2 separate regions of the Homo sapiens genome follow, and region 1 is linked to region 2. The links are contacts of gene promoters, found by promoter capture Hi-C in blood cells and fetal thymus (Javierre and others, 2016). All regions are on one chromosome and are shown on one strand. Each heading gives the region's core, a stretch centred on a gene start or on the middle of the fragment in contact. The rest is flanking DNA. Distances are from core to core; before and after follow the strand shown. Region 1 overlaps STAMBP (STAM binding protein). Region 2 holds the start of RTKN (rhotekin).

Region 1 (4,630 bases), core at 1,936-4,435, 590 kb after region 2:
ACAGATGCAGAGACCAACCCCAGAACTCTGCAGCCTGGGCAAACACCACAGCCCTGAGGGAATTTCCTGCTGTGCCAAACTGCTCTGCTGAGAAGCTCTGGGTAGAGTACCATTTCTCTTCCCTTGCTCAGGTCTAAAGTTGTTGTCCTGTCACTGTTTCCTTAAGCCCTTCTCATCCTGTAAGCCTCGGCTTACATTTACTCTACTTCATTTATTTATTCATTCAGCAGTAATGGGTTCTTTAAGTGCCTCCATTCAGTGACCTTTCCTTCCTCAAAATTCCCAATACTTATACTGTACATATTTTTCAGCATGCTGGTTAGACTTTAGTGCATGTCTGCCTTCTCTCCAAAGTGACTGGGCACTTTTCGTGGACACATACTATGTGCTTTACATATTTTATATTCCCAGGTCCTACCATAAAGTAGGTACCAAAAAAATTGATATGTAGATAATGACTGGATCTTCCTACCAAGTTTAAAATTAGGTATTTCTTACTACTAGCATTAAAATAACCACTTCAATTCAATCAATCAATACAGGGTCACCAAATTCAAAGTGACATGAAATTATGCAGTCCACGGTTCCTTGGTACAAAGAGTAACTGACCCTGGATATTTTCTCTGAGAGTCACAGGATGCCAAGAGGGGAAGAAACAGTTTCGGTTCAGAGAAGAGTTTGGTTTTTTTTTTCTTTTTACCAGTTTTCCACAGAGAATTCCACATGTCTCCACTCCCCGGGCAGTGTTGGCACTGGCTAACTGGAGAAACTGTGGGCACAGCCGCCCAGGCACCACCACATGGCGCAATCCATCGATTGTGGGAACTGTAAAGGAGAAAGGAGAATAGTCTGCGACCACTGAGCCCTGCCTCCTCAAGCAGACCTCACAGCCAGCAGCCCTGGAGGAGCAACATTAAGCCACTGGGATTCCCCCAACTTCAGGCAGTGAGTAGGGATCTCATTCTAATGGCACCAAAAAAAGGGCTGTAAAGTGTCTTCTCCAATCTTGGGCCACAGCTGTAAGGAGCACATTACTTCAAGAAGAGAAAATAGTAGGCTTTAATTATTCAAGTTAAGAAAAGGGCAAACTACTACCTTAAGAAAAGTTTTCTTAAAAATAACCTTAAGAATGTAATTGGATTGTTTGTAACTCAAAGGATAAATACTTGAGGGGATGGATACCCTATTCTCCATGATGTGCTTATTTCATATTGCATGCCTGTATCAAAACATCTCATGTACCCCATAAATACATACACCTACTATGTACCCACAAAAACTTAAAAAATAAAAGTAAAAAATAAAATTTAGGGGGGAAAAAGACACAAGTTCTTGAAACATTTGGGAATTTTCTGTCAGAATCTAATACAAAGAATTAAAAAAATAACCTCCCTGCTGTGGTTTGACTGTGTCTCCCAAAGTTCATGTTTTGGAAACTTAATTCCTAATGCAAAATTATTGAGAGGTAGGATCTTTAAGAGGTGATGAGGCTATGAGGGATCTTTGTTTGCCCTTCCACCCTTCTGTCGTGGGATGACGCAGCAAGAAGGCCTTTGCCAGGCCCCTGGGTCTTGGACTTTCCACTCTCCAGAACTATGAACCAAATAAATTTATGTTCATTATAAATTATCCAGCCTCAGGTATTCTGTTATAGCAGCACAAAATGGACTAAGACACTGCCCATTCATCTGAACTTTTAATTTTAAATCTCTTTTATCTCAGATAAGAATATCAGAGTATGACTTTAAAAGAAATACACTGGTGTATATTCTTGAGAATGGAAAACAATCTGGGCAGTTATTTACTTCTGAACTTACTCTTCTGGAAGAAGTTAAATGCCAAACCACAACAAAATAAAAAATACAGTGTAGTCCCCCAAAAAAGGCATGAACAAAGCAGCTCATAAAAAATGCCAAGAATGGACCCAGTTTCTGAACACCATGGAGAAACTCTGTGAGACAGCCAGCAAGCTAAAGTTAGGAAGTGTCTCTCACAGCTATATTTTCATATTTAAAAAAAAAAAGTGGGAGGGGAAAGATGTTCTGCTTTTGCGTATTCAACAGCAAGATCTGAATTGCTAGAGAGGTAACAAAGTCAGAGCAGGGGACACAGAGTCACACAGCAGTCTGATGATGTTATCTGAGGATTATGAATTCGGTTTGGCACATTCTTTTCCTTTCACTAAAAAGTTGACAGTCTGACTTTCAAGAATAATATTAGCTCTTCAGAAAATCGACCAGACTAGGTTTCAGCAAAGGCCACTTTTATAACATAGCCAGTGTATTAGGACACAGTACAGCAATACTTATCAGATGGGTTTCTGTGACCAAAGCTTAATGAGTGGGATCAGGGAGGTAATCTTAGGTTGACCCCGTCAGAATGATACTGTTTGGCTGCAACTGAGAAGGAAGAGGACATCAGCAAATGCACTTACTACTTTCTGAGTTGCTCAGTGCTCCAGGTTTCAAGGACCTGTCCACCACAGGTGGCTTAGCTGGCCTTACAGTTGTGTGACAGTCTGAAGGCTGTATGGATGAGACTGTTAAGGTGGGGAACACATCTAAGGAGGGCTTCTCCAAGTCAGGCACTAGCGGGCCACCTAGGCCAGGGTCTACCTTCCCAAACTCCTGTACAATTTTCAGTCGCTCTTTTTCTAGCTCCTGGTTCCGGATCATCTCCTCGAAGGCATGGAACTGTTCCTGTTCCAATTGCTGCTGCTTCTGTTGTGCTACCCTCTGTTTTTCCTTTTCCAGCTCTTGCTGGATGGCCATGTTCCGGGCCAATTCCTCTGCTTCCTTCTTCTACAAAGAGAGAAAATTTAGGCTAACACTTCACACCTCAGTGACTTCACACTTCAGGAGAACAAGGCTTTTTAGCATGGAGATTTCCAAAATGTACTTCTGCTGTGGCCTGATTACCTAACACAGAATTCATGCTTTCCTCAGTATCTTTATACCCACGGAGTGTAGTCACCACCCCTTTCTATCTGGCCACAGTATACCTATCTCCAAGGACAATTAAAATCCCAATCCTCTCAATACCCTCCCGACAATGACTCTACCTAATGCACTTTCCTCTTCACTGAAATCTTTTTTTTTTTTTTTTTGAGACAGGGTCTCATTCTGTTTCCCAGGCTGAAGTGCAATGGCATGATCACAGCTCACTGCAGCCTTGACCTCCCAGGCTCAAGCAATCCTCCCACCTTAGCCTCCTGAGTAGGTGGGACCACAGGTGTGCACCACCACACCTGGCTAATTTTTGTATTTTTTGTAGAGACAGGGTTTCGCCATGTTGCCCAGGCTAGTCTTGAACTCCTGGGCTCAAACAATCTGCCCACCTCGGCCTCCCGAAGCGCTGGGATTCCAGGTGTGAGCCACAATGTCTGGCCTGAAATCTTGATGCAACTTACTATCTGTGTTCTCCTAACCTGTATCACAGACAGTTTTATTCTTCTCTCTGTGTCATGTACATATTCTATATTTCAAGTAAGGCTATAAAATAGAACCAGATCCAAACTTATACCTGCTATCTTGGGGGTCTCTACTGAATTTTTTTTTTTTTTCTTAGAGAGTCTCACTCTGTCACCTAGGCTGGACTGTAGTGGTCAATCATGGCTCACTGCAGCCTCAATCTCCCTGGGCGCAGGTGATCCTCCCATCTCAGCCTCCCGAGTAGCTGAAACCAGAGGTGCGTGCCACCACACTAATTTTTGTATTTTTTGTAGAGACCCAGCTAATTTTTGTATTTTTTGTAGAGATGGGGTTTCACCATGTTGCCCAGGCTGGTCTCGAACTCCTGGGCTCAAGCGATCACCCACTTCAGGCTCCCAAAGTGCTAGGATTACAGGCATGAGCCACCACGTCTTGCCTTCTACTGAATTTTAACCCAAAATGAGGCCTCTGAAATTTTTATGGTTTTTGTGCATTTGTTCAACACAGAGTGACATTTTAAGCTAATAAGAAATACTTGAGAGGCATTTGGATTAAAAAAAAAAAGAAAGAAAGAAATGCTAAGTAATAACCTCCTCCTTAAAGCTTACACTCACTTGGTGCTTTAGAAGTATATACCTCATAGCTGTTCATCCCTCTGCTGATTTTCAACATCAGAGTCCAGAATAGAGACCAGCAGACAGCTACACAACAGCCTGTGAGTGGCTGCAGTATGTATTCACAGCTGGCCACTGACAGCGCCCTGGCAGTTTCTCCACATGTTTTAACTGACTTCCTAAAAAGAATCATTTGAAAATAGCTTGAAATGGCTGGGTGCAGCGGCTCACGCCTGTAATCCCAGCACTTTGGAAGGCCGAGGCAGGCGGATCACTTGAGGTCAGGAGTTTGAGACCATCTTGGCCAACATGGTGAAACCCCATCTCTACTAAAAATACAAAAATTAGCCGGGTATGGTGGCGGATGCCTGTAGTCCCAGTCACTCGGGAGGCTGAGGTAGGAGAATCACTTGAGTCGGGGAGGCAGAGGTTGCAGTGAGCTGAGATCGTGCCACTGCACTCCAGCCTAGGCGACAGAGTGAGACTGTCTCAAAAAAAAAAAAAAAAAATAGCTTGAAAAGTCAATTCTTATAAATAGCTTCAGGTATAACCAAATGTGAATCCAACCCTCAAATTCTCTGATCT
Region 2 (6,998 bases), core at 3,590-6,089:
TGCCTCCCGGGTTCAAGCAATTCTCCTGCCTCAGCCTCCTAAGTAGCGCCCAGCTGATTTTTGTATTTTTGGTAGAGACAGAGTTTCACTATGTTGGTCAGGCTGGTGTCAAACTCCTGACCTCGTGATCCACCCGCCTTGGCCTCCCAAAGTGCTGGGATTGCAGGCGTGAGCCGCTGTGCCCAGCCCGTAATTTAATTTTTAATTAAGGCAATGTTTAGCAACTGGCATGCCCAATTCCAGAAAAGTCATCAACACGAACCGCTGGTGTGAGCTTCAGCACTTGAATGCACCAAACTGTCTCAGTGTTTTCTTCTGGAAGTGGAATAATTGAGGGTGGGGAAGGCATACTTTTATTCATTTTTTTCATTATTTACATTATTTAAAAAACAGTGGCATTTATAGTGTTTAGAAAACTGTACACGTACTTTCAAATATTTTTCAAATGAAATTTAATTTAAAAAATAAGTCTGGCCTGGCGCGGTGGCTCATGCCTGTAATCCTAGCACTTTGGGAGGCTGAGGCGGGCAGATCACGAGGTCAGGAGTTCGAGACCAGATTGAACAACATGGTGAAACCCCATCTGTACTAAAAATACAAAAATTAGCCAGGCGTGGTGGTGGGCGCCTGTAATCCCAGCTACTCAGGAGGCGGAGGCAGGAGAATCGCATGAACCTGGGAGGCAGAGGTTGCAGTGAGCCGAGATTGCGCCACTGCACTCCAGCCTGGGTGATAGAGCTAGACTCCATCTCAAAAATAAAAATAAAAATAAAAATAAATGCATGCATACATACATACATAAATCCATAGAAATTTTGACCCTTATCTCTCCTCCCTCAGTTGAGTGCAGTGTTAGTTGGCTTCCCTGACTCCAGTCACAACTCCTCCAACTGACTAATGGAAAAGGCTGCCAAATTACGATCTCTAAAGTTAATTCTGGGAGGAGGAACAGTGGTCACGCCTGTAATCCCAGAACTTTGGGAGGCTGAGGCAGGAGGATCACTTAAGGCCAGGAGTTCAAGACTAGCCTGTACGATGCTGTCTCTACAAAAAAATTTAAAAATTAGCCTCGCATGGTGGTGCACGCCTTTAGTCCTAGCTACTCAGGAGGCTGAGACAGGAGGATTGCTTGAGCCCAGGAGTTCAAGGCTGCAGTGTATTATCATGGCACCACTTTGCTCTAGCTGGGTAACAGAGTGATATATATTATATAAATATATATATATAATATAATATAATATAATCCTGATCATGTCCCTCCTTCCCAAAAATCTTCAGCCACATTGAGTACAAACTCTCAGGCAGGATTTGAGCTCAACCTCCTTTTTGAAGATCCTCCATTCCTCTGCCTCCTTCCTGGGTCTCAGGCCAGGGGTTTTCAAACCCGTCCACAGAGCTTGTGTTCACTGGGGGAGCAGGGAGCAGCTGAGCACCTGTGGGTAGACAAGGCATGAGGCTCTAGCACCTGCTCCCATCATAGCAGCTCTGATTTGATTTCACACATTTCAGGTAAGATTTCATTAAAAAAAAAAGGTTCTGTTGCTTAAAAACAAACATTTGAAATGAACTATCTTAGTCCAACAGGATGGCACATCTCAGTCAAGGACTCTCAAATCTGTTTGCTTCTCTTTTATTTACTTCAACTGATGTTTATTGATCACTTGCTATGTCCCAGGCACTGGGGATAAGACAGACTGCCCCTCCCTAGAAGGCTTACAGTTCAGAGGAGTGATGATGAATATTTGAATAAATTAAGGAACAATATCTTTCCCTTTCTTTCCCCTCACACGTCTTTTGTGGTTAATCTCAGATGCCATGGACTTTATAAATCTTTTGATCTGCCTTTCCTACTGACCAGAAGAACTCCCTTCTCCATATAAAATTTTGTGTGTGGAGGATGTTGGTTGTTTTTCCTGTTCATTTTCCATTCTCTCACCTTCTGGTGGTAGTGGTTGGAACATTCTTTGGGGAACAACCCTCCCCCACCTTCTCCCTCCCAGTTCACTGGGTTCTGGTTAGTCTCCAGGAGTGGGCAAGTGACCCCAAGCCTGGCCAGCTGGCACCTAGAACCTCCTTAGCCACAGCAATTGGTTCAGATCTGGCCACCGTCTGACTCCAATGATTGGTTTGGGATGGATGAATGATCACAAATGTCTCACAGCGAATCCCAGACGTGTAGGAGCCTCAGGAAACAGATGCTCTCTTTTCAGCTGAATTTAAGCCTGAAAAGATATAGACCCAGAATTTTGGGCAGCAATTTCGTTACACTGTGGAGAGTGAAGCCAACGTGGAGGAAAGTAGAGCCAAGTGATGGGAAGAGACTGGATATTCCTGACACTCAATGAGTGGGTTAAGCCACATCTAAAGCTTGACCCCTGGCTCATTTGTTTGTATTGGCTCAGTTCCAGGAGCCGATGCATTTCCCCTTTTGCTTTAGTACTTTTCAGTCAGCTTTTCCAAAAGAATGTTGAAATGATTTGCCATAGCAAAACATTTCTAATCTGGACTCTCTAAGAGCTCAAGACTGGTATGTCTCTGGGTCCAGCCAGCCTGCCATGTAGGAGTCTCACCCTTTCTCAAGTTCTGTGTTCTGAAGCCTTCAGGAGATCTGTTTATGTGTGATCAGCAAGTTAATCCTTTGCCATTTCCTTCTCTTCCACTGGGCTTTCCCCAGAGGGGGCAAGAAGGGAACCCTGTTTTTTGTTTGTTTGTTTGTTTGTTTGAGACAGAGTCTCGCTCTGTCGCCCAGGCTGGAGTGCAGTGGCACGATCTCGGCTCAGTGCAAGCTCCGCCTCCCAGGTTCAGGGCATTCTCCTGCCTCAGCCTCCTGAGTAGCTGGGACTACAGGCGCCCGCCACCATGCCCGGCTAATTTTTTTGTATATTTAGTAGAGACGGGTTTTCACCGTGTTAGCCAGGATGGTTTCGATCTCCTGACCTCGTGATCTGCCCCCCTTGGTCTCCCAAAGTGCTGGGATTACAGGCGTGAGCCACCGCGCCTAGCGGGAACCCTGTTTTTATGGAAGCAGGGAGTGGTAAGTCCAGCCGGGCAAGTCCAGCCATCCAGCAAAGCAGCTGATTATATCTATATCTATCTATATCTATATCTATATCTATATCTATATCTATATCTATATCTATATCTATATCTATATCTATCTATATCTATATCTATCTATAGATAGATAATATTGGCCAGGCGTGGGCCACGCCTGAAATCCCAGCACTTTGGGAGACCAAGGCGGGTGTATCGCCTGAGGTCAAGAGTTTGAGACCAGCCTTACCAACATGGTGTAACCCCATCTCTACTAAAAATACAAAAATTAGCCAGATATGGTGGCAGACGCCTGTAATCCCAGCTACTCCGGAGGCTGAGGCAGGAGAATCGATTGAACCCAGGAGGCAGAGGTTGCAGTGAGTCGAGATCATGCCATTGCACTCCAGCCTGGGTGACAGAGTGAGACTCTGTCTTAAAAAAAAAAAATTAAAATAAATAAATAAATAAATAAATAAAAATAAAAAATTATACATATTTGTAATGCTTTTTAAGAGATGGGGTCCCACTATGTTGCCCAGGCTGGACTTGAACTTTCGGGCTCAAGCAATCCTCCCACCTTAGCCTCCCGAGTAGCTGGGACTACAGGTGTGCACCACCATGCCAGGCCAATTTGTGTGTGTGTGTGCGTGTGTGTGTGTGTTTTGTTGAGACAGGGTTTCATGTTGCCCAGGCTGGTCTCCAACTCCTGAGCTCAAGAGCGATCAGTCCCCCTTGGCCTCCCAAAGTGCTAGGATTACAGGCTTGAGCCACTGCACCCAGCCATCTTTTTTTTAGACGTAGTTTCGCTCTTGTTTCCAAGGGTGGAGTGCAATGGTGGGGTCTCAGCTCACCACAACCTCTGCTTCCCGGGTTTAAGCGATTCTCCTGCCTCAGCCTCTCAAGTAGTTGGGATTACCGGCATGTGCCACCATGGCCGGCTAAATTTTGTATTTTTAGTAGAGATGGGGTTTCTCCATGTTGGTCAGGCTGGTCTCGAACTCCCAACCTCAGGTGATCCACCCTCCTAGGCCTCCCAAAGTGCTGCGATTACAGGCGTGAGCCACCGCGCGCAGCTGCTCTTTATGACTGCAAATATGGGGCACTTGCCTTGTGCCAGGCACTATGCTGGGCATTTTACCCTCATTCTTATAGGTAATCCTCATAGCAACTTGAGGAGTGGAGATAATTACAGTATTCCCACTGAACAAATGAGAAAACTGAAGCTCAGAAAGGCCAGTGACTGGACCAAGTTAATGATTGCACGGTTAGTTAGTGACAGAGCTGGGGTTTCACGACGTGTTTAAGCACCGCCCCATCAGTTGTGGCCACTAGGCTTAGGCGGATAGCCTCGCAGAGGAGCCTAGGTGGGGAGGGGGACGAAGAAGGAACATTTGGGACTGTGGGATGTTGAAATGGTCTCTTCGGAGGCTGCCGGGATTGAAACTGGGCAAGGTCCCAGGGCCCGAGTAGAGCCAGAGCGTGCTACGCGGCGATCCCTGAGCCACGGGGTTTTCAGCGCCCGGGAAGCCAGGCTTGCCAGGTTGGGGCGGCTGGCGGGGCAGGGCTTCTCGGTCCGTCCCAAGTCCAGGTAGGCGCTCGCGACCCGCGCGGGCAGGGAGAACGCGCTCCCACAGTGCTCGCGAGGTGCAGTGCGCCCCTGGGGGCTCCGGGGCCGTCGGGCCAGGTCGGCTTGGCGCCCAGGGACTGGCCGGACGGGCTGGGCCTTTGGCGGGGGTGGAAGAGGAGGTTGCCGCGCCCTGCCCGGCCCAGGTGTCGTCTCCGGGGGCGGGGTTTGGAGCCCCGCAGCGGGAGATTCCCGGCCGGACTGGCGGACGAGCGTCGAGAGACAGAAGCCGAGGAGAGGAGGCTAAGCCGGGCGGCGCGGGGAGCGCACTGAGCAGGCAAAGTCGCAGGGCCGCCAGCATGTTCTCCCGAAACCACCGGAGCCGGGTCACCGTGGCCAGGGGCTCCGCCCTGGAGATGGAGTTCAAACGCGGCCGCTTCCGACTCAGCCTCTTCAGCGACCTGCCCGAGGTGAGAGACTCGCGTCCCTGCCTTCCCCTTCCGCGGCTCCCGGGGGCAGCCCCAGCCACCTCGGCCTCCTTCCCTCGCCCGCGTGCACGCCGAGGGGCGGAGACGCACGGTCTGGGTACAAACCCGACGGAGTTGTTGACTTAAAAAGTAAGGTGTGGACGGTCTGCATTTTCATCGGATCCATGCTGCCCATTCCGCGGCCTGGTTAGGATTATCTGCCTGAGCCTGGAAAAAGCCCGGGTTGGTCTCAATTTGTAGGGCCCCAGCTCGACTCCTAAAATGTGCCTGAACCCCAAAATGTCTTGGGCATCCCCGGGCCAAGGGCGGTGGGCAGCTAGGCGGGCCCCAAGCGCTCGGACTCTTGGCCTGGGCTCCCGCTTGTTCCCCAGTCGCCAGCCCCATCCCACAACCTGTCGCAGCCATCTGGGCCAGCCTCTGTCATCAACCCCGACTTTAGGCCGGGGCCGCTCGCTTCCCCGAAGCCCAATTCAAAGGCTCCTCTATGCCCCTGCAGGGCTTTTAACTCCTTGGGGTTACTTCCCACACGCAAAATTTCCGCCTCCTTTTCTGGGGCCTAAGAGGAGTCCAGCCCCTAGGCTGAGCGTTTCCCCCGTCCGCCGTCCACGCGTTAACCTGTTGGATCCCCACCTGTAACGCCCTAAGGGCTAGGGCGGGGCTGAAGGTGTGTGGTTGAGCGGGGACTGAGAGGGCGAATAGCTACCCCGAAGACTCTTCTGTCCCCAAGGTCAGACTCACACTCGCCCAAGGAGAGCCCAGTTCCAAGCCTTCCCTTCCGGGTCTGGAAAGGGTTAAGTGAGGTGGGCCTTCCTTCCGCCCCCTCTACCTCCCGGCTGGGATTCCAGGCCTGGCTTCTGCCCTTTCCCTCCAGCCTGCCCAGAACAAAGAGGCTCTTTCACACCCTTGTCCCGGCGTCCCGGGCCTTCTCTGACTCAGAAGCTAGTGGACCTGGGGAGAGGGGGCCTTTGTCGCGTCCCCTTGCCCCCAAGCGACTGGGCCCGAGGAACCCGCGTGGGGCCAGCGTGGGGGAGTAAGGGGCGAGGCCCGGGACCAGGGGGAGGGGCCTGTGAGCTGGGGCCGCCCCTGGGATTAGCCCGGCCTTCGGGGACAGCTCGGAGGAGCTGGGGCGGAGCCGCAGGGCCTGGCGGCCGCCGAGTGAAGTGTGACTCCGTGGGCCTGGCGTGGAGGCGGGGGCGCTAGGCTGCAGCTGGCTCGGAATCGGGGCTGGTTTCCTGTCTGGAAGGGAAGGGGCCTGCAGAAGGGAGCGGGGACAGCAGCAGACAGGCACACCCCTGCCTTCCTCTCTCCCTCTCCTCCCTTCTCTGGAAAAGCGAGGTAATTGTGAGCCCAGGGTGGAGCGGGCTGGATGGGGGCCCTGAGTTGGAAGGGGTGGCCCTAGGGCTGGGCTGCTTTGCCAACTCACCCCTTTGTCCCATTCCCTGGGCTCACTCTCCCCTGAGGTCCTCACCTGTGTGGCTCTTTTTCCCAACTTTCTCAAACTAAGCTGGAACCCCTCTCGGGAAGCTCCAACCTCCTGCAAACCCCATGACTCTAGAACCTGCATGAGGCGTCGTTTCCCTGCCCCCTTCCAGTTGTGCCTGCCCCTCACTGCCCTCTCCGCACACAGATTCCCTGTCCACCAGGCCAGGGATGTGGGCGGGGGCTGGGGAGCGGCCAGAGTCGGAATGAAAGGGCCTTTTTCTTCCACAGCTGGGAGAACAGCTGCCACCAAAGCGAGACTGGACACTCTGTGCCTAGAGCCCCCTCTGCAGCTGGCCTTTCCTCCTGGGACCCCACTTATCCTCACTTCGCTTTCTTTTTCTTCCCTGCCTGGCTCCCGGCAGGGCCCCGGAGCAGCAGTGGGCGAGGAAAATTTGTCACAGCAGCCAGAGGGGTTTAACAGGAGTGCA

The links. Contacts are between HindIII fragments. The CHiCAGO score rates a contact against its expected background, and 5 or more counts as called.
Region 1: a contact is called between a fragment that was not itself captured here and the fragment with the promoter of RTKN in region 2, in 2 of 17 cell types (naive CD8 T cells and naive CD4 T cells). The highest score is 5.5, in naive CD8 T cells.

What each region holds. Positions count from the first base shown.
Region 1 is chr2:73,845,558-73,850,187 of GRCh38, reverse strand. It overlaps STAMBP (STAM binding protein), which reads right to left. Exons shown (of 10, transcript NM_213622.4): 5 at 2,435-2,801; 6 at 701-825. The region is part of intron 1 of LOC112268419 (a long non-coding RNA gene); the gene reads left to right. Among named protein-coding and RNA genes, the nearest start is that of STAMBP, 19 kb to the right of the region's middle. The HindIII fragment of the contact is 1,702 bases long and covers 2,335-4,036 here.
Region 2 is chr2:74,439,778-74,446,775 of GRCh38, reverse strand. RTKN (rhotekin) reads left to right here and starts at 4,839. Exons shown (of 12, transcript NM_001015055.2): 1 at 4,839-5,070. The coding sequence starts at 4,960. RefSeq lists silencers at 4,749-4,828, 5,139-5,198, 5,914-6,223 and an enhancer at 6,651-6,998. The HindIII fragment of the contact is 8,784 bases long and covers 2,370-6,998 here.